Regions from separate parts of the Homo sapiens genome. Here regions 2, 3, 4, 5 and 6 are each linked to region 1. Evidence: promoter capture Hi-C in 16 types of primary human blood cells and fetal thymus (Javierre and others, 2016). All regions are on one chromosome and are shown on one strand. The core of a region is centred on a gene start or on the middle of the fragment in contact, and the rest is flanking DNA. Distances in the headings are between cores, read along the strand shown. Region 1 holds the start of PPIL4 (peptidylprolyl isomerase like 4). Region 2 overlaps UST (uronyl 2-sulfotransferase). Region 3 overlaps UST (uronyl 2-sulfotransferase). Region 4 overlaps UST (uronyl 2-sulfotransferase). Region 5 overlaps UST (uronyl 2-sulfotransferase). Region 6 overlaps UST (uronyl 2-sulfotransferase).

What was found. Contacts are between HindIII fragments. The CHiCAGO score rates a contact against its expected background, and 5 or more counts as called.
Region 2: a fragment that was not itself captured here is called in contact with the fragment with the promoter of PPIL4 in region 1 in 1 of 17 cell types (naive CD8 T cells); the score reaches 6.4 in naive CD8 T cells.
Region 3: a contact is called between a fragment that was not itself captured here and the fragment with the promoter of PPIL4 in region 1, in 1 of 17 cell types (non-activated CD4 T cells). The highest score is 6.1, in non-activated CD4 T cells.
Region 4: a contact is called between a fragment that was not itself captured here and the fragment with the promoter of PPIL4 in region 1, in 1 of 17 cell types (non-activated CD4 T cells). The highest score is 5.3, in non-activated CD4 T cells.
Region 5: a fragment that was not itself captured here is called in contact with the fragment with the promoter of PPIL4 in region 1 in 5 of 17 cell types (activated CD4 T cells, non-activated CD4 T cells, total CD4 T cells and 2 more); the score reaches 12.5 in activated CD4 T cells.
Region 6: a contact is called between a fragment that was not itself captured here and the fragment with the promoter of PPIL4 in region 1, in 8 of 17 cell types (activated CD4 T cells, non-activated CD4 T cells, total CD4 T cells and 5 more). The highest score is 18.6, in activated CD4 T cells.

The regions. Positions count from the first base shown.
Region 1 is chr6:149,544,379-149,548,012 of GRCh38, forward strand. PPIL4 (peptidylprolyl isomerase like 4) reads right to left here and starts at 1,665. Exons shown (of 13, transcript NM_139126.4): 1 at 1,558-1,665. The coding sequence starts at 1,627. RefSeq lists enhancers at 1,555-1,854, 2,558-3,234. The HindIII fragment of the contact is 2,652 bases long and covers 1-2,553 here.
Region 2 is chr6:148,763,260-148,766,893 of GRCh38, forward strand. The region is part of intron 1 of UST (uronyl 2-sulfotransferase); the gene reads left to right. LOC107986659 (a long non-coding RNA gene) reads right to left here. Exons shown (of 2, transcript XR_001744408.2): 1 at 1-3,634. Among named protein-coding and RNA genes, the nearest start is that of UST, 18 kb to the left of the region's middle. The HindIII fragment of the contact is 7,407 bases long and covers 1-3,634 here.
Region 3 is chr6:148,966,079-148,969,712 of GRCh38, forward strand. The region is part of intron 5 of UST (uronyl 2-sulfotransferase); the gene reads left to right. Among named protein-coding and RNA genes, the nearest start is that of UST-AS1, 3.2 kb to the left of the region's middle. RefSeq lists an enhancer at 3,522-3,634. The HindIII fragment of the contact is 2,032 bases long and covers 522-2,553 here.
Region 4 is chr6:148,983,400-148,987,033 of GRCh38, forward strand. The region is part of intron 5 of UST (uronyl 2-sulfotransferase); the gene reads left to right. It overlaps LOC124901424 (a long non-coding RNA gene), which reads right to left and starts at 48. Exons shown (of 2, transcript XR_007059805.1): 1 at 1-48. The HindIII fragment of the contact is 1,045 bases long and covers 1,063-2,107 here.
Region 5 is chr6:149,000,020-149,003,653 of GRCh38, forward strand. The region is part of intron 5 of UST (uronyl 2-sulfotransferase); the gene reads left to right. Among named protein-coding and RNA genes, the nearest start is that of UST-AS2, 31 kb to the right of the region's middle. The HindIII fragment of the contact is 6,154 bases long and covers 1-3,634 here.
Region 6 is chr6:149,016,416-149,020,049 of GRCh38, forward strand. It overlaps UST (uronyl 2-sulfotransferase), which reads left to right. Exons shown (of 8, transcript NM_005715.3): 6 at 2,724-2,821. Among named protein-coding and RNA genes, the nearest start is that of UST-AS2, 14 kb to the right of the region's middle. The HindIII fragment of the contact is 2,434 bases long and covers 617-3,050 here.

The DNA of each region.
Region 1 (3,634 bases), core at 415-2,914:
TTTATATCCATTAGTCATCATAATGAACCTCTAGTGTGTGCCCTAAAAGTAGCAGACATTGTACTGGGTACTCAGGATATAGAGATGATAATTATGGTATAGTTCCTGCTCTCATTGGAGTTTACATTCTTGAGCGAGGGCACGCTTGTAAACAACACCAGGATAATAGGTAAATGTTAAAATAAAATGTGTCATGTGGTTTATAAAAGACCTAAGACACAGCAGAGGAACCCTCAGGTAACTCTGCTTAGAAAGGAGGGAGAGCTTCAAAGAAGAGATGATGCTTGATCTGAGATTTAGATAATAAGTAGTAAGTTTGCCAGAAGGACAATAGTGGAGAAGAATATTGTTTAGAAGAAACAGCAAAAGAATGGTAACAATGGTACGGGAGAGTTTGTAGTGTTTTCGCCAGGTGGAGAGGAGGGAGGAATAGCTGCGTGCGAGGGAAAGCGGAGCACGGCAGGAGGTAGTTATTGTACAATATTGCAACTTATTTCACCTTCTTTGATAGGCTCTGCATTCCATGTGGGTAGGACCCTGTTTGTAACTAATCTCTCCTGGTCTCAGTTTCTTCCTGACTCTGATACATTCTCCACACCGCTGCCTATTATCTTCTCAAAACAAGTATGCCATGCCTCAATCCTGCTTTTAAAGTCTTCAAGGACTCTGATCATCAGTAGGGCACACAAGACTATTCACGACTGACCTAGGCGTATCTGACCACACTCGAGTCTACCATTCCACGACTCACACCAGTCCTTCCAGCCACACCAAACTACTTGCCGTTTCCAGAAAATTCCAAACAAAGAAAGTCCAAGCTAAGAAAACCCTCATTCCCATTCATCTTTGAAAGAACTAGTTCAAGTGTTCTATATAGTATTCGCTAGCTTTGCTTCTTCCCACCCCCCACCAAAGAAGCCGCCCTCTTCTGGTTTCCGTGGCAACTTACACATTCTTCTACCATAACACATAGAAAACTAAAATGGGTTCCTGTGTCTACTTCCCCCAGTGGAAAAATCAGACCCTCGGGGGCAAGAAGCCAAGCCCAGGACTTAGCCCAGTGCCTCGAAGGCTCAGTCCACACTCCAGACAACCTCTTCCTCCTCCACCTAAGCGGTATGCCCACACTCGCTGCGCCAAGCACACCCTAACTGCCTTCATCAAGATTTAACCGATTACACACCAAGCAATAGTTCCTATGTTCCTCTCACGAGTAAACACAATAAAGGCACAAAAGCTATGGGTATTGTATGTGCAGCTCGAATCACACACACACACGCCCCACACACACACTCCCAAAGGCAATTAATGACCGCAAGCACCGTCCACCGGACTGGCCAACACAAAATACGGGAGAAGGGCTGCCAAGGCTCAAACGAATTCCCGTCACAAAAACTTTTCTAGCCAAGGCCGGTTAATAAAATAGCCCAGTCGCGGGCACCAGCAGCCCAGAAGCTCGAGCTCTAGCCAATCTCTGCCCTGGACTGCGCAGAGAAGGGAAAGTAGGGAGACAAGCTCGGGGGCCCCGGCGACAGGTGAGTGGGGCTCAAGCCTCACCACGCGGCCGTTCTTCGGTGTACAAGTCGATGACGACGTCGCCTAAAGTGGTCTCCAGTAGAACCGCCATGGCGCCCGCTCCTCCTCCGCTACAAACCCCGGGAGGAGGGGGGTGACAGGCGCAGGCCGACGGCGTCGTCTACGCCACGCGTCACCCTCGGCGCGACCCCTTTTGCGTCATCTCGCCGGCGCCGCCCCCGGTTCCGAGCAGTTCCTTCCGGTCGGCGTGCGGGCGCCGGGCTGCCCAGCTGACTTACGGATCGGGTTGGTCCCGCCCCCGGCGCGGCCGTTTTGAAAATCCTGGTCCGCCCTTGGCGATTTTGGTGGAAGCCTGTCCCTCAGAACGGTCTCAGTATAGTGTTTTGTGCCCCGTTTGTGTCCGTCTCAAGAGCAGAGCGGCCCTCCGCGCGGCCCTTTTATCCACCAGGGGGCGCCCGCGGCGGGATCTTCTCTCCACCTATTTGGGCGGACTCCTCCGGGTTTCCTCGTCAGTCTCCTTTTCGCAAAACAACTTTGGGCCTCTACTAGGGGTTTCCGATTCTAAGAACTAACATTTTGTTTTGTTTTCTGTTTTGAGACAGGGTCTCGCTCTGTTGCCCAGGCTGGAGTGCAGTGGCGCGATGTCGGCTCACTGCAACCTCCACCTCCCGGGCTCCAGCGATTTTCCTGTCTCAGCCTCCCAAGTGACCACAGGCGCGCGCCACCACGCCCGGCTAATTTTGTTCTTTTATTTTTTGTAGAGATGGCGGTCGGGGGAGGTGGTCTCACTATGTTGCTCAGACTGGTCTCAAACTCCTGAGCTCAAGGAGTTCGAACTCTTCCCGCCTTGGCCTCCCGAAGTGCTGAGATTACTGGCGTGAGCCACTGCGCCTGGCCAAAACTAACATTTTGCCATGCAAGTTTATTCCCCAGACACTCTTCTGGGCAAGCCTGTCACTCTTTCTTATGACATTTTACACATAATCTCCAATAACTTCACATCTGACGAAAAGCCAAAGCTTTTTTTTTTTTTTTTTTTTTTGAGACGGAGTCTCGCTCTGTCGCCCAGTCTAGAGTGCAGTGGCGCGATCTCGGCTCACTGCAAGCTCCGCCTCCCGGGTTCACCCCATTCTCCTGCCTCCGCCTCCCGAGTTGCTGGGGCTACAGGTGTCCGCCATCACGCCCGGCTAATTTTTTGTGTTTTTAGTAGAGACCGGGTTTCACCGTGTTAGCCAGGATGGTCTCGACCTCCTGACCTCGTGGATCCGCCCGCCTCCGCCTCCCAAAGTGCTGGGATTACAGGCTTGAGCCACCGCACCTGGCGGAAAAGCCAGAGCTTTTATAATGATTTACAAGATCCTCTCCTACCCCATCCTACGCCATCTTCTTATTCCTCTGAAGCCACAGTAGACAGTTTGCTATTCCCTGAACACTGCTGACATACTCCTGCCCCATGGCCTTTTCACTTGCCTTGGTTGAGGGACCTCTTCCTCCAGTTATTTGTATGGCTCCCATTCACCTCCTTCAGGCGCTTTGGCGTCGGTCACCCTGTCAGTGAGGCCCTCCATGGCTGCCATAATTAAAATTAACCCCACAGACACTTCTTTTTCTCCATATAGCTTTTTCTCCAGAGTACATTTTACAATCTAACATGCTATTTACGAATTTGTTTGTTTGTTTATTGTTACTAGAATGTGTGTTCCAGGATATTCCATCTTGTCTGTTTTGTTTAAAGCTATATCCCTAATGCGTATGACAGCCTGGTACACAATGTGCAAATAAATGTTTGTTGAATGAATAAATATGGTTTTTCGGTTTGGGTTTTTTTTTTTTTTTTTGAGACGGAGTCTCGATCTGTTGCCCAGGCTTGAGTGCAGTGGTGCGATTTCAGGTCACTACAACCTCCGCCTCCTGGGTTCAAGCGATTCTCCTGCCTCAGCCTCCCCAGTAGCTGGGGCTACAGGTGCCCGCCACAGCGACTGCCACCACAATATTCATGGCTGGGCGTGGTGGCTCATGCCTGTAATCCCAGCACTTTGGGAGGCCGAGGTGGGCGGATCACCTGAGGTCAGGAATTTGAGACCAGCCGGGCCCATCA
Region 2 (3,634 bases), core at 537-3,036, 780 kb before region 1:
CTGAGCATTTTCTCCTTTGTATTTTTGTGGGCTGCTTGTATATCTTCTTTTGAAAAATGTCTGTTCATGTCCTTTGCCCACTTTTTAATAGGGTTATTTGCTTTTTTCTTGTTGAGTTATTTGAGTTCCTTGTATAGATTCTGGATATTAGTCCTTTGTGGGATGCATTTTTGCAAATATTTTCTCCCTTTCTGCAAGTTGTTTGTTTACTCTGTTGATTCTTTCTTTGCTGTACAGAAGCTCTTTAGTTTAATTAAGTCCCTTTTGTTTATTTTTGTTTTTGTTGCATTGCTTAGCCATATATTCTTTGCCCAGGCCAATGTTCAGAAGAGTTTTTCCTAGGTTTTCTTCTAGGATTCTTATAGTTTCAGGTTTTACCTTTAAGTCTTTAATTCATCTTGAGTTAACTTTTTATATGGTAAGAAAAGGGGTCCAGTTTCATTCTTCTGCATATGGCTGTCCAATTTTTCCAGCACCACTTATTGAATAGGGTATCCTTTCCCCATCGTATATTTTTGCCAACTTTGTTTATGATCAGTTGGTTGTAGGTAAGCGGCTTTATTTCTGGGTTCTCTACTATCTTCTATTGCTCTATATGTCTGTTTTTGTACCAGTACCATGCTGTTTTGGTTACTATAGTCTTGTAGTATAATTTGAATTCAGATAATGCTATCCCTCCAGCTTTGTTCTTTTTGCTTAGGATTGCTTTGACTATTCAGGGTCTTTTTGGTTCCATATGAATTTTAGGATTGTTTTTTCTAATTCTGTGAAAATGACATCGGTAATTTGATAGGAATTGCATGTAATCTATATGTTACTTTGGATAGTATGGGCATTTTAATGATATTGATTCTTCCAATCCACATGCTTGGGATGCTTTTCCATTTGTTTGTGTCATCTACAGTTTTTTTAATCAATGTTTTATAATTCTTGTGGAGATTTTTCACCTCCTTGGTTAAATGCATTCCTAGGAGTTTTATTATTTTTTGTGGCTATTGTAAATGATATTGAGTTCTTGATTTGGCTCTCAGCTTGAACATTATTGGTGTATAGAAATGCTGATTTTTGTACATTGATTTTGTGTCCTGAAACTTTACTGAAGTAATTTATCAAATCTAGAAGTCTTTTGGAGGAGTCTTTAGGGTTTTCTAGGTATAAGATCATGTCATCAGCCAACAGAGATAATTTGACTTCCTCTTTTCTAATTTGGATGCCTTTTATTTCTTTCTCTTGCTATCAGGGGAACCCACCCCCGATAATTCAACGTGGGTTCTTTTCTATTTCCTTAAGTGTCGGCCGGTCTGAGAAATAAAGGGAAAGAGTACAAAAGAGAGAAATTTTAAAGCTGGGTGTCCGGAGGAGACATCACATGTCGGCAGGTTCCATGATGCCCCCTGAGCTGTAAAACCAGCAAGTTTTTATTAGCAGTTTTCAAAGGGGAGGGAGTGCATGAATAGGGTGTGGGTCACAGAGATCACATGCTTCAAGGGCAACAAAAGGTCACAAGGCAGAAGGTCAGGGCGAAACTAGAATCACTAATGAACTTCCATGTCCTGCTGTGCACACAATGTCAGGGTTCAAGAGCAGAGAACCGGTCTGACTAGAATTTGACAGGCTGGAATTTCCTAATCCTAGCAAGCCTGGGGGTGCTGCAGGAGACTAGGGTGTGTTTCATCCCTATCTATATCTGCATAAGGCAGACACTCCCAGGGCACCCATTTTAGAGGCCCCGCCCTAGGAATGCATTCTTTTCCCAACGCTGTTAATTATTAATATTCCTTACTGGGGAAAGAATTTAGCGGTATTTCTCTTACCCATTTTGGGTAATAAGAGAAAGGCAGCCAGACTTTAAGGTTATCTCCCTTGTTCCCTGAAAATCGCTGTTATCCTGTTCTTAAGGTGCCCAGATTTCATATTGTTCAAACACCACTTATTGTTTCAGCACCACTTATTGAATAGGGTATCCTTTCCCCATTGTATATTTTTGCCAACTTTGTTTACGATCAGTTGGTTGTAGGTATGTGGCTTTATTTCTGGGTTCTCTACTGTCTTCTATTGCTCTATATGTCTGTTTTTGTACCAGTACCATGCTGTTTTGGTTACTATCATCTTGTAGTATAATTTGAATTCAGATAATGCTATCCCTCCAGCTTTGTTCTTTTTGCTTAGGATTGCTTTGACTATTCAGGGTCTTTTTGGTTCCATATAAATTTTAGGATTGTTTTTTCTAATTCTGTGAAAAATGACATCGGTAATTTTCAAACACACATGCTCTACAAACAATTTGTGTAGTTAATACAATCGTCACAGGGTCCTGAGGTGACATACATCCTCAGCTTACGAAGATGATGGGATTAAGAGATTAAAGTAAAGACAGGCATAGGAAATCATGAGAGTATTGATTGGGGAAGTGATAAATGTCCATGAAATCTTCACAATTTATGTTCAGAGATTGTAGTAAAGACAGGCATAAGAAATTATAAAAGTATTAATTTGGGGAACTAATACATGTCCATGAAATCTTCACAATTTATGTTCTTCTGCCTTCAGCCTGTCCCTCCGTTCGGGGTCCCTGACTTCCTGCAGCATCTTGCCTAATTGCTCTGGCTAGGACTTCTACTATTATGTTGAATAGTGTAGTGGGAGTTGGCATTCTTGTCTTGTTCCAGTTCATAGGGGAAGTTCTTTTAAATTTTCTCCATTCAGTATGATGTTGGCTGTGGGTTTGTCCTATATGGCTTTTATTATTTTGAGGTATGTTCCTTTGATGCCTAGTTTGTTGAGGGCTTTTATCATGAAAAGATGTTAGATTTTATGGAATGCTTTTTCTGCAGCTGTTGAGATGATCGTATGGTTTTGGTTAGGCTTATATCTTCATACTTCATTTGTTTTATGGCATAATGCGTTTCTGTGCCAAAATATAGCCTCTCTTCCCCAGATTTTTTCCCTGTCACCTTGTCAGAATGATAGTTGACTTTGTTAATTGCAGAGTAAGTCTTGCTCACAAGGCTTATTCTTCATTGAAGTCTCACATCAATGAGCCTTAAAGGATCAGAGACACATGTTCTCCTATCACTCTCACCCACTCACCCACTTGCTCTCACCCACTCACCCACTTGCTCTCACCCACGCACCCACTTGCCCTCCTTTATATTTAGCTTGGCAGTCTTCCTCTGTTTTCTTTTCCATCTAGACAGGTTCATTCCTTCAACAAATGCTCATCAAGCACCAGTTATATGCTGAGTGCTAAGATAATCACCGTATTCATGGGGCTGTGTTGTACCTGGAGGGACAGAGAAGGACTTAAGATCCCGTATGAGGTGTGTTGAACAGGGGGAGTTAAAAGAGGTAGTAGAGGCAGTGATTGGTCATGCCTGGATATGGTTAGACTGATTATCTCTTTCCTAAAGGCCCTGTTGATGCTAGTAGATCAGGAGGTACTCAAGACTGGCTGCATGATAGAATAACCTGGAGAACTTTGGAGAATACAGATATGTGTTCATTTGGTCAAGGGTGTATGTGTTAAAAGCTCCATGGGTAATTCTAATATGCAACCAAAGTAAAGAACCACTGTAGCAGATACAGGGTCGGAGAGTTTTGTTTGTGCAGTAAATCCTCTTACAGTACTATTTAG
Region 3 (3,634 bases), core at 288-2,787, 580 kb before region 1:
CCGAGCATGGTGGCGCATGCCTGTGATCCCAGCGAATTGGGAGGCTGAGGCAGGAGAATCCTTTGAATCCGGGAGGCAGAGGTTGCAGTGAGCCAAGATCGTGCTACTGCACTCCAGCCTAGGTGCCAGACCGAGACTCCATCTCAAAAAATAATAATAATAATAATTAAATAAAATAAAAAACTATAGGTTATGAATATGACTATATGTTTTTTATTTGGTGAGACGTGTATTCAGAGTATAGAAACACTACAAGAATAATGTCTTCTCTAATTATCTTTATTATTTGTTTTGGATCTTGATTAATATATCTATATGCTCTTTAAAAACAGCATACATTCCATTTAATCCAGACAATTTTTTCATAGTTCTGATTCAATCCTCATGCTAAGAAAGTTAGAACCAAAGGACAGCAGAAAATGCCAAAAAACCAACAATACAGAAACACGTCTTATGAACACTACTCTTCAAATATTAATGTAAGAGTTAAGAGGAATGCTCTAGCTTCTTCCGTTCTGTCAAGCTTCTGTTGCCATCCTGTAAATCATTTCATATAATGCAGTTTTCACACACTCACACAAATAATAAGCTGCAATCATTAGAGAGAAAGGTGGCAAATGTGAGGGGAAAAAATTATGGTTTGGAGTTTCCATTTGTTCGTTTTTGTTTTTGTTTTGAGACACAGTCTTGCTCTGTTGCCCAGGCTGGAGCGCAGTGGCAAGATCTCTGCTCACTGCAACCTCCACCTCCGGGGTTCAAGCGATTCTCCTGCTTCAGCCTCCCCAGCAGCTAGGACTACAGGTGCTTCCCACCACGCCTGGTTAATTTTTGTATTTTTAGTAGAGGCGGGGGTTTCACCATGTTGGCCAGGCTGGTCTCGAACTCCTGACCTAAAATGATCCACCCACCTCAGCCTCCCAAAGTGCTGAGATTACAGGTGTGAGCCACCGTGCCCAGCCTGGTTTGGAGTTTTTTTAAAAAGGTCATAAAATATTGAAAGTTGGTAGTTGGGGCAAGTGTTATATTTTTGAAGAGCTGGTAACTGCCTTTGTTATGTGACTTGAGAGATTGTAGAGAGATTTCCCTGCCTGGAATTCTGCCCTTAGAAATTTGTAGGGGCTCCTTTCCAAATGTAAGCACTGTGTTCGGGAAGGGTCTATGTCAGATGAGGTCATCAGATCGATCCTTGGCAAGGCCCCAGCAGGAAAGCACTGGGCTCCCCAAAGCAGCACAGCAGAAACTCGGGGGGGCTCAGATTCAAGAGAGGAGAGCCTGGTGGTGGGGGGGAGGGGTGTCCCCTTCATGATCTGGTTCCAGCCTGACCTGGTTAGAAGGCTGTCTTCTTGTTCAAAGGATAGTTTGTTTATTTGGAAGAAGATGGTCTATTGCCTTTTTTTAATAGCTGAAACTTTTAATTCCATCTCCTTGGTCCCATTAGACCCTTGAAATAAAATTGCCCCCTTTCAGAAGAGTCTGTCCTCATTTTGGCAAAGGCTGGGTAGTCAGTTGTTTGACTCAAAAGAGGGTGTTGTTTGTGTCTCAGCGGGGCGCAGGCAGCTGTGAGGAGCCCACTGTCCCCTCCTTGCCGGCCACCCCTCCCCTCGGAGGCCCTTCCCTGCACACCGCATGCCCACAGGGTCTTGGTTGCTGGCCTGAAATGAGTCTGCTGATTTACCACGTCATTCCAGATCTCAGTGCTCTAAAGCCCCTTGCTTTATCCCATTGCCAAAATTCGGGCAGTTCTGCCCCTGGCCCTGAGCCTCACAGAGCTGCTTAGCATACAGCTGGGAGTGGCCAGTGCCTGCCTCCAAGCCTGCTCTGAGGATGAAATAATATCATCTTGTGAGGCAGGGTGGTTTGGAAGAAAATGGAAAGGGTAAAGGAATCCTAGGATTTGCAGGAACCCCAAAGAGGATGAGGACTCTCTCATTTTACAGGTGTGGGAACGGGCCTGGGATTCGGGGTGGGGTAAAGTCCCTGCCAGGAGGAGAATCCAGACCTCCTGATTCCACTTCGGTGCTGTTTGCCCACTCAGACCTTATGTTCCTGAAGGGTAAAGGGAGAAGAGGACTGGGCCGAGTCCCACGCTTTTGAAGCAGAATCATTTGATGTAACATCGTCTCTCCATCTTTACAAAGACATCGCTGTTACAGCAATTTGTTTTCAAATATTCAAGCATCTTATAGCTATACCTTATTTTCTGGGAACAACTAGCTTTTCTCAAACTTTCTATTTCTTTCCAAACTCTTCTTCCTTTGCATTTCCTGGAAAATCATTTTTAAATAAATTAGTGCTCGCATAGATGCAAGTTCAACTTCTAGCAGCCATACTGTGAAAAGGCAGTTGTCTTAGGCTCATTTCTTTTTGTCCAGAGCTGGAAGCTCCCCAGTGTGGAGGTGGCTGCCTCCTTTTTGGGGGTGGGAGTCCTCTGAACCCAGGCACACTTGGACACATCCCAGCACCTGAGACTCTAATCCAGCTCATGTCCAGCCTCCTTTATTTCCAGGGTAGGGAAATACCTGGCACACAGACCATATTTAATGAATGGTGGAAAGCTTTTTCTAATGAAGAGCAACTGTTGTCATCTCCAGATGAGGGAGAGCATCTTATTCCTGCTGAAGCCACTCCCTTTTCCAGTCTTGGAGCTTCCATGAAAGTGGATTTCTTATGCTGTCATTTTCACCCTGCTGGTTACACATCAAGTTCTCAAAAATGTCAAATTGGGCTGCTGCCCTAACCATTATTGCCACTTCACTAGGCCATCCTCCATTTGAAGAATAGGAAGAAAAGGGAGAAAATCTTCCCAGAGAGAACACTGCCTCTGTGACACTGTTTATTCGGCTTGGCTGTAAAATGTGGAAAGTAATGCATGTTTAAAAGAAAAGATGTGTAATTTACAGCTTCTTAATTCATAAAGAATTCAGTGAATCATGTTGGCCCTGTTGGATTCTGGAGAAGTCTGAAAATTGGCCAGAGTCAGCAAAGGTTTTTAGAAAGCTATGCATTTTAATCTACTTGAAAGTTTTGGACTCTGAATGTCCTTTAACTTTGAAAGTATACATATGAAATACCAGCATGTGGAAATTTCCACTCTGTCCCAACCAGCTGAGACTGTCCTTTGAGCAAAAGAAACCTCAGGCATTGCCTCTATTTCTAAGGCATTGTTTTTCTTAAATAAATAAAATGAAGAAGGGCTTTGGATTGTCTGCTTTTTAAGTGTTTCAGTAAATATCTATGTTTTCCAAATACGTGACGGTAAGAAAGTTACGCTCTTGGTCTTCAACTAGTTCAAATTTAGCTTCCAATTGTAGGCTGAGCCAGGGGCCCAAGATAAGGTGTATTTATATTCCCTTCTCAGCTGCCTTAGCTGGGTGACTTGGATTTAGCCTCTGTGAACCTTGCTTGTCTCATCTGTACAATGGGACCATATTACCTACTTTGCCTGCATTACAGGGTTGTTGGGAGAGTCTATTGAGCATTCTACACAGAAGTGCTTTGGAAGCTAAAACTCTCCAAAACACATTTCAGTATTGATGCTCCCACCCCCTTGGCTCCGTTACTGGCTCCACATGACCTAAAGGGGCCATTTTTCCTCCAGACCTGGAGCTCCTCTGCTCAGGGAGTCCATAGAGGC
Region 4 (3,634 bases), core at 335-2,834, 560 kb before region 1:
ACAGGATTCGTCATCAAGGTCTTTTAACATGGGATCCCATGGAGTTGATAAAAGGAAAAAAAAATCATACCTCAATTAGTCATAATATTTCAAGGCAGAAAAGAAACATAGAGGTTATCTCATCTCAGCCAGTCATTTGAGTTGTTACGGCTGGAGCAGGAGGGTTGGAAATGTCACACAGAGTTAACTCCTGCTATCATGCTGCCAGCAAAGGCTGAGCCCTATGGGGTGTTTACCAGGAAAAGCGAATGTAGGAAATAAAATGTCAAGAAGAAATTTGTGAAGTACAAGAATGTCTGAAAAGAGCGTATGTTAAGTTCTGAAACAAAATGATAAAACTCAGAAGTGACAGCTGTTACCTAAACTTTTCCAATGTGTTGTTCACCAATCTACTTCTGAAGACAGCCTAGTGCAACCTCATTCCTTGTCCAGAAAAGGAGGACGTAGTCTTCAAGGTGACCAAATCACCATAGGAGACCCTATCACCACCACCCCCACATCACACAGTGTACACATGCATGTGTACAAACACACGATAACATCGATGCCAGTGGCTGAAATTTGACTTGTTCTTTTTTTAAAAAATTAAACTGTTCTTCCTGGGTTTTTTCCTTTAACTATAAATAAACCCGGTGGGTCTGGCATTTTGTTACCAACATCTTTTCAGGAACCTACCCATCTGCAACTGATTATTATATACATCATGTGCATAAATGTTTAGACTACTTATATTCAGATATGGTCAATTCCTTCATTCTTCCTTTCAACAAATGCACAGCACCTACTCTGTAGCCAGCCCTTTAGCAGATGTTGAGAATGCACTAATGAAAAACACAGATGTGGTTCTAGCCCTCCCAGAGTATATAATCTATCAGGGAAAACAGACATTAAACAAGTATTGGGAGAGATGATCAGGCTGTGGGAACAATACGTGCATAGGTCAAGGGTCCCAAGTACTGCAAGAATCTCATATGGATGAGAACAGGGGTGTGATATGAAAGCTGGAGAGGTGGGCAATAGATCAATCATCAAAGCCCTTAAAAAGATATTCTAAATATTTGAAGCTTTATGCTAAAGACAATAAAAAGTCCTAGACATCATGACATGATAGGATTTGCATTTATTTATTTATTTTTAATTAATTTGTTTTTTAGAGACGGGATCTCACTCTGTCTTGCAGGCTGGAGTGCAGTGGCACAATCATAGCTCACTGCAGCCTCAAACCCCTGGGCTCAAGCAATCCTCCCACCTCAGCCTGCCAAGTAGCTCGGGCTATAGGTGTGCACTACCCTAGCGAATGGGGCCTTGCTGTGTTTCCCAGGCTGGTCCTGACTCCTGGCCTTGAGCCATCTTTCTGCCTTGGCCTCCCAGAGTGCTGGGATTACAGGCATGAGCCACTGCACTCAGCCAAGATTTTCATTTAGAAAATCTTGCAAGGGGAGGATGTTTGGAGTAGAGCAAAATAAACTATTTTGGTTTGAAATAGGATTGTCATGGTACATGAGACCAAGAGGAATGGATAAAGACATGTCTATGTAATAAGATCAACAATTGTTTCATGAGTAATTGGCTATGGAGCTAAAGGATGAAGAGGCGTTCAGGATGATTCTAGGTTTCTAGTTGGAGTAAGCTGATGCAAGGTACTGCTGAGGGTAGGGAATAACGGGACGGATGTGCAGGAAAAATAAATTCTGCTTTGGATATGCTGAGTTTCAGGTGCTTGCAGTACATATGAATGGAGACACCCAGCAGGCAGAAAAGTGGGCTGTGCTGAATATGTGGAATTGGAAGTTATCAGTATCCAAAGAGAGGGTAATCAATCTACTAAAATATTCTGTGAAGGTTGAGATCATGTCTGGAACAATGTTGGTGCTCAGTAATTATCTGCTGAAGTTGTTGAATTAGAGCCATGGGGTGCGTATCAGGGATGAGGATAAAAGAGCCCAGAGTCACCCATTTTTTAGCACCAACTGAGGACTTTGAAGCAAAACAACAACAACAACAACAACAAAAACTGAACAAGAGTCCCAGGAAGAGTACAATATAGAGGTGTGGTGGTGTCAGAGAATCAGAGGAAAAAAGTTCTGAGAGGTTCATGACTGTCAGAAGCTTCAAGGAAGAATATCTAAAATGAGAATAGAAAACGTAACCATTAGATTTCTACTAATCTTGGCAAGAGCAGTTTCCATTTAGTGACAAGGGTAGAAGCAAGATGGATATGCAGATGGGGCAAGAAAGATGTGGAAAAAATGAAGATAGTGGTGGGGAAGTCTGGTCTGCATTGGCCTGGTGAGGCATGCAGAGGTATGCGTGGGATTGTCACGTTCTCTTTCAGGATCACTTACCAAAGGAAGAGGTAGGTCCTCAGAACCTAAAGCGCAAGGAGATTCCACATTACTCTTCTCTTAAAAAACAAATACTATTGAGCACATACCATATACACAACCTAAAGGGCTTCTTCAAGATGCAGATACCAAGATGAGATTGGATGTGCAAGAGATTTATTGGGGGAAATGCCTGTGAAGGGAAAAGGAGGCAGGAAGAGCCATCAAACCCATAGTAGATCTGATTCCTATAAAGAACAGGGGAAGGACTATTGGGTAAGGAGAGCCTCAGAACACAGTGTAGTTTTAAGAAAGTTTCAGTCAGGCCAAGGGGAAGTTGTCAGCCAAAGTCATTCATCAGAGGAGTCCTGTGTGTTGCAGGAATGGGCCTGCCTTAGACAACTTGTCACACTAGTCACTGCCTGATATTAGCCTACGGGAAGCATGCCCTTGGCACAAATGAGGTGATAAAATCGAACAAAGCAGCTGGGACCATTGGTTACTTACTCTTCCAGCAATGGGAGAGATTCATGGCTGCCACATATGTAATATCTCATTTAATTCTTACAGCATCCCCCTAAGATTGGTATTATTATACCTGTTTTGCAGATGAGATGCCAAGGATTACAGAGGTTAAGTAACTTGCCTCAGTTCATACCACTAGTAAGTAATAGAGCCTGGATTTCAGCTAGTGGTATGTTAGAGCTGGCTCAGACTAATCGAGTCAATTTTTTATTTTTAGGAATTGCGCTAGTCAGTTGACACAAAGACAGTAGCTTGAAAATTTGGCCATATAGGAGTATTTACAGCATGGAAATCTGCATATGCTACACATCAGTCCTTTGTTTGTTTGCTTGTTTCTGAAAAGATGGTTGTTAGGCATTTGCCGGTACACCACTGATTTGAAGCCAGGTCATCTGATGCTACAGCTGACTCTCCAACCTCTATGCTACAGACAATTGGCTTCATGATTCCCTGACACATTTCTGATGCAAAAAATTCCTGAAACCACCCTCCTCCTCGGAATCCCTGTGGAGAGCTTGCCATGCCCTGTATTTTGCTTTTCCCTGAATTGCCGTCATCATCATTTTTATGTCTCCCTACCTGGATAGAAAGTTCCTCAAGGACAGAGAGTGCAATCACTTTATGCTCCCTGTCTTTGCAGTGTCCTGCACACCACACTGCTCAGTAACTATTCACTGTTGAAGGTGATGCTGATTGATATACATCATCACCCTACTGGTGATTAAGGATTGGTAACATCTACAAAATAATACAAAAGATTGTGCTTCATACAGATGTATCTTTCT
Region 5 (3,634 bases), core at 337-2,836, 540 kb before region 1:
GCCAGCTGGGCTCTGGTCCAGAATCCAGTAGTGGCAGCCAGAAATAGGACAAGGTCAAGGAGACTAGAAGTGTCCTGGCCAACAAGAGGGCCAGACCAGGCTCAGTGCTTTAAACCAAGGCATGGGGTGAGAAGCCACACTTCCCCTCACTTTCCAAGTAAAGGAAGTTAAACGTAGCAACTGCTCATCTTCTGCCTGGAACTATGCCCTTATAAGAGGCTAGAGATATACAGAGGTGGAAAAACAAAACCACAAACTCACAAGTAAGAAGTGAACCAAACTATTTGCTCCTTTGTAAGCAAATGTGTAATATTCTCATTGCTCTCATAAGATGGGAAGTAAAACTAAGACCTGATTCTGGACTCAGGACCCGGGAGTCCGGATGGTAGAAGCCACAAAACCACTAGAATAAGACAGAGGGTGAGAAGGAGGAAGAAAGAGAGACAGGGAGAGGAGAGAGGCAGCAGAGAGAGGAAGAAGACGGAGACAGATTATGAATCTCCTACCCAAAATGAGCCTACAGACCATACATTCTAAGGAACATGGAAAAAAAATCCAATACCAAGAAAGGCAGGCAGCAAAATCTAGTACTGGAATATGAATACACTCCAGATGGCTTTAAGGAACAACCTGACAAAGTCTTTAAAATAAGTGTGCCTAGGATGTTTGAAAAGACAAAAGAATGAATAGCTTCCATTTAAAAAGAGCAGAAAATTGTAAGAGAGACATGAAACAAGGACATGAGGATATCTTTAAAATAATTAAGTAAAATGAAAAATATGGTTATTGAAGTAAAAATTTAATAGATAAGTTCTAAGCTAAATAAAGTTAAAGAGAATATTAATTGATTTAGAAAATAGTCAAGAGGAATTCACCAAGAATGGAATTCAGAAACAGATAGACAGATAGAGCAGTTAAGAGACATGGAAAAAATATTGTAAAGTTTCAACAGGCATCTGATAGGAGATCCAGAAAAAAGAGAATAGAAAAATGTTAGGGAAGAAATATTTGAAGCAATTAAAGGACAAAATATTCCAAAATTGGAGATGATTCTTTTTTTTTTTTTTTTTGAGACAGAGTCTTGCTCTGTCACCCAGGCTGGGGTGCAGTGGCATGATCTCGACTCACTGCAAGCTCTACCTCCCAGGTTCATGCCATTCTCCTGCGTCAGCCTCCTGAGTAGCTGGGACTGCAGGCACCTACCACCACGCCTGGCTAATTTTTTTGTATTTTTAGTAGAGTCAGGGTTTTACCATGTTAGCCAGGATGGTCCTGATCTCCTGACCTCGGATCTGCCCACCTTGGCCTCCCAAAGTGCTGGGATTATAGGCATAAGCCACCGCGCCTGGCCTGGAGATGTGATCCTTCATACTAAAAGTACACTGGGAGTACTGAACAGATTAAACAAATTTAAATATTCACACAAGTATTTTAGAGTGAAACTGAAGATATCAAGGAAAAGGAAGCAAAGCAGATGACCAATGAAGGAATCATAGTTAGGCTCATAGCAGACTTCTTGTCAGCAACAATAGATATCAGATGACAGTACAGTAATATCTTCAAAGTGTTGAGATAAAAAAATTGTGAACCTGGAATTTTATACCCAGCTAAACAATCATTCCACTGGCCTTTTTCAGACACAGAGAGTTTCCTACTTACTGAGTTCATTAAAAGCATTATTAAAAGATGAATTATGGGGGAAATTAAGGTACAAGGGCATAAAAAGCAACAGTGAACAGAGCTGTTGAGTAAAACAATGTTAGTAAAATGAGTTGAATATTAAGTGTTAAAAGTTGTTTGTATGTTAAAAAAAGATTACAATTAGGCAACTTTAAAAAGGTGAGTGGTGTTTAATGGATAAAGTTGCTAAAATTCATCTCCGATTTGGAGGAATATAAGAAAACCAAATTACTTCATGCTTTATTAGAAAAAATTTAATCAAGTTTGAATGTTAAAAAAAATTTAATGACTTTTCCATTTACTTATCTTTCTCATCATCTATTTACAAATGAATTTTTAAAATTCTTTGCCCTTCCTCAGACTCTCTCAGTAATGAAAGTATCTTAAGCTCCTTTGTTATTTTTATTTTCTTAAATTGTAAGAGTCATCCATGTGTTTGAAAAAAAATCTTACAATGTTAAAAAAAAAATGTAAGGGTAAAATGTAATCCTTAGATTCTAAAGCAGTAGAGGACAGGGAAGGGATATTATTAAAAACTCTATTAAACCAACAGAAGACATGAAAAGAAAAAAGATGCAGGAAAAAAAGAATAGCAAATTTTAAAAAACGCAATGTAAGGTGCAGAAATTAAGTATTTTAATCTCACTAAAAGTAAATGATTAAATTAATTTATTAAAAATAGAAAGGTTCATTTACTAAAAGTAGAGGCTGAAAATAATGAGACTGGAGAGAGTTACCAGTTAAAAACTAAATAAATTTAGTGTAGGAATAATAACATGATACATTTTTATTTTTACTTTTTATGTATTTATTTATTTATTTTTTGAGATGGTGTCTCACTCTGTCACCCAGGCTGGAGTGCAGTGGCGCAATCTCAGCTCACTGCAACCTCCGCCTCCCGGGTTCAAGCAATTCTCCTGTCTCAGCCTCTCGAGTAGCTGGGACTACAGGCACAGACCACCACGCCCAGCTAATTTTTGTATTTTTACTAGAGGTGGGGTTTCACCATATTAGTCAGGCTGGTCTCGAACTCCTGACCTCAGGTAATCCACCTGCCTCAGCATCCCAAAGTGCTGGGATTACAGGCGTGAGCCACTGCGCCTGGCCGTATGACACATTTTAATATAAGGCAAAGGCATTAATTTTAAAAAATCATAAAAATAATGAGAACTACCAAGAAGATATTCTATATAAGTATTAGCATAGTTACATATTATAAACTACAAATAAAGGAAAATCAATCCAGTTATTCATTGGTCGCTTAAAGCCAGAGTGCTTACTGTGATGCCTTATGTACAGTAGATGCCTTAATTCATAATGTAATTAAAGAATCTTGGCATTCATTGGTTGGAGATTCCAGTTTGAATTGTTGAAACACAATGAGTGAATCATTTTGAACTACCCTAAATTAAGAATCTCTGAAATAAAATTGCAGTAGACCATATCGTGGCATGATAGAACTATGGCCAATGGAACTATGCCTTTATACAAGGCCTTTAAACTGTATTAGAATAGTATGGTTGAAAACTTAAAGTTAGAATCCCAAATGAAGTTTACCTTGCATTTCATTTCTAATCAATGGCATTAAAGATAATAATAGCTCTCTCCCACCCCTTTTTCCTCAGTATTCAACTAACCACTGGATTCAGTCCTTATAATTTATGATTATGTAAAATTTATGCCCCAAAATTTTTGCCAAAATATTTTAACGTCATTTTGATGTCCAATTTGGTAAAAAACAAAACAAAAAAAAAAAACATTAAGGCACCTAGTAGTTTTATAAATAATTCCCAATGGGGCTAACCTCTGCTGAAAGACATTCTTTGTGCTAAGGTTTCTGACATCATAGACAGAAGGAAAATGATTGTTAGCCAAAAACACTATAATGGTGAGAATTAGTGACTGATAATGTATTCCACTTTTACCTTCGAAAATGTTTGTACAAAACTGGGTT
Region 6 (3,634 bases), core at 584-3,083, 530 kb before region 1:
GCAAATGGAAGAGGTGTCTGCTTCCTTTCTTGCTCTGGAGCAGTGTGCCTTGTCTCTCTCCTTCTGCCATTTATTCACTCACTCATTCAGTATCTATTGCACTCCTGCTTTAGTCCAGGCAGGGTGCTGAGCACTGGAGATGCAGTGAACAGTCTGTGCTCTGAGGGACCTACAACCTAAACAAATAAGCACACAAGTACTTGCTCAAGGGCAGCTCTGGAGAAGCAGCAGGTGCCATGAGAGCCTCTGTAGGAGGCTCTGGCGGTCTCTGATGCCCTGCTCCTCCTGTTAATGCAGGACTCTGGGGGGCTGACTGCGTATGTGACAGTTCTTTGGATGTTCCCCATCACTTTACTCCGTCCTTCTTTGTGAAATCTCGACCTCAGCAGATGAACACTGTCCTGGCCAGAATCACCCTAGGCTCTGCTTCTCACCCAGCTCCTGGCCCCCTCCCTGTTGCCACTGCTGCAGAGGGAGGCCACCAGGGTTATTGGGTCCCTCGGACTAAAGGCTCAGGTTCCAAGGGGAGGCCAACTACCAGAGGACACCCTCAAATGTGAGCAGGGCAGGGGGCTCAGAGCATCCTCAAGGCAAAGCACAGGCACCCGCCCGCACAAGCTTTGGTTTGTTTCACAGTGTGTAAATCTCTGTACAGTTTTCTCACAATAAATGTAAGATGCAGCCGGGCACAGTGGCTCACGCCTGTAATCCCAGCTCTTTGGGAGGCCGAGGCGGGCGGATCATGAGGTCAGGAGATGGAGACTATCGTGGCTAACACGGTGAAACCCCATCTCTACTAAAAATACAAAAAATTAGCCGGGTGTGGTGGCGGGCACCTGTAGTCCCAGCTACTCGGGAGGCTGAGGCAGGAGAATGGCGTGAACCCGGGAGGTGGAGCTTCCAGTGAGCCGAGATCACGCCACTGCAGTCCAGCCTGGGGGACAGCAAGACTCTGTCTCAAAAAAAAAAACAAAAAAAGTAAGATGCGTACATTGTAATAAAAGCTAACACTTCAAAAAAGGAATAAGGAAAAATTCAGTATATTCTCATCTTCCTTTATGCCAACCACCAGAAAAAACTGCTTTCAATCGTGTGCTGTGTCTCCTTCCAGATCCTTTTGTGTTTATGTAAACATGTTGATTTTTATATTGTCCTACATGTTTATATTGTCCTGTAGTCTATACTTTCATTCACTTGAAAATTTATCCAAGACTTTTCAGGATAGCACACACAGATCCTTCTCATTTTTTCCAGGTATCCAGTATTTCAGTGTGTGAATGTACCATAATTTCTCTTAAAACCAATCCCCCGTTCGTGAACATGTAAATTCTGCCATATTTTGTTGTAATAAATAAACTCATTGCAGCAATGAATATCCATATATACACACACACACACACACACACACACACACACACACACATCTGTCAGTGTCAAACTCTTCTTAGAAAGGTATTTCAGGTCTAGTGTCTTGCATTTTAATGGGTTTTCATACACAATGAGATGCTCTTAATCACCCTCACCACATGGCTGGACAGACATATGCACCCCCCTATTCACTTCTCATATGTTCCTCCCTGGAAACTGCACCTCCGCCTCTCATGGTAAACTCAAGTGCTTGAGTACTCTCAATTGTGTTTTTTGCAGATTCTGTTTATTTCCGTTGAATTTGTTATTGTAATTGTGTAATTTACTTAATTGGCATATAAACTGAAGAAGTATGAGGGGATTATTGTTTTTAAGAAAAAGCATAAATTATATTTCTCTCATTCCCAATTTGAACTAAAAAAATTGTTACTAGCTAAACACCCACACCTAAACACCTACACCCACACATGTATATCAGATACAGTAGCTTCTACCGACTCATAATTTCATCAACCATATTTGGGAGTTGTGTCCAGTCTTAATCTGCCTTGCCAGTATAGTCTCTGGAAAAACATCCTACAGCTGTTTGGTTTATTTGTAGATTGAGTTATCTTTTCTCCTTAGAAATACCTGAGAATGAGGCATGTCTTATTTAGAATCTCTAATATGATCTACCTTGATAAAAGTTGGTTTTGAGCCCTTCTGCTTACCCCCACCAAGCCATTTCAAGCTCTGGTAACGCCCTCAGAAACACCATGTCCAACCTCATATAAGAGAAATGGAAAACCTGGACGTCACAACTGTTGCCTTTGAAAGTGAGAGGGTGTCTGTATATAAACATCCTGCTACTTTTTAAGCTAATATAGTGTTAGAAGTGATTTTACAGCTCCTCTAAAATTTGCAAACTCTTATGAGACTATTGTAGGTACTTAGTTGTTGGATGCATGGATACACAGAGAAGCCCTAAATTCATGCAACAAACATTTATTAATTGCCAACTGTATACCTACTAATTGGCTGGCAACTGGTGGCGCCACCACGAAGCACAGTGGGTACCACTGTTCTCCCAAGGCCTGTGACCAAACTTAAGACTCGGAGCCACCAGGAAGTGCAGAGATGCAGTTTACTCAACAGAGCATGCACTCTCTAAAATGGCCCAGCCCTGTGTGTGCCTGGCCAGTGGAGCAGGATGCTGGGAGGCAAAAAATAAGTTTTCTCATGAAATCTGTGAATTCTCTTCATCTTCTCAAGGCGTGCCTGTGTAATTCAATCATGAATTTTACTTAAACTGTGTGGCATTTGATAGAGCCTTGCAGAGACTACAAGACATCTGACTGCTGTATTTTCTCTTCTAGGATATCAATGAGTGTATTCTTGAAAACTATCCCGAGTGCTCCAACCCCAGGTTATTTTACATCATTCCGTACTTTTGTGGACAGCATCCCAGATGCAGGTAAGGGCTAAAGCAGGGTCATGGCATGCACGTACGCACAACAAGGGCAAGAACCCCACCAGCCTGGTACTCGGTGGGAATCTTTTGTATCCCTAGTCTCTCAACCTTCTGGAATTCAGTTCCTGTTTACTATTAATCTTTCAAGATAATATTTGAGACTCCAAATGTCCTATAAATAATGAAATTTAAAAATCAGGGTCTGTAGAGGCCTCAGGAGACCACCATATAAAGCTTTGTAACTGGAACCAAACCCTTGTTTATACCTAAAACATACTTGTCACTACTCATCCCATGTTGTTTGTCTTTCTCTTTGGATAAAATGACAAAATGTCACATAAAATGTGATCGTGAAGACCAGGAGCGAACACCCAGCCTGCTCCTGTACAGTGACTGACTTAACCAACAACCTGCCCTCGTAGCATGTGTCACTGGGTCTGAGACACTGGAAGCCCACACCTCAATCCCATAGTGGATATACTTAGTAGGCAGAGAAGAAAGTGTTTTATAATGATCACCTGTCAACCTTACTTGAAGGCACAACCTTCTTTAGAGAGTGACTTACTCAGATAGTCAGGACCCCCAGGGTGTGATCTGCCCAGGTCCTGCATCAGCACCCCTGTATACTTGTTAAGAACCCCCACCCAATCATAGTCTCGTGTGTAGCAGCCTCCCCAGATGCTTCTGGCGTAGCTATAGTTGAAATCTACTGTGCTAGACAAATGTCATAGCCTGGAGAAGAAATGGCAGCAACAATGAAGCATTATATTTGCTTGGTAGGAAATCAACCCCTGCTATCAGAAGTGACATTATTCC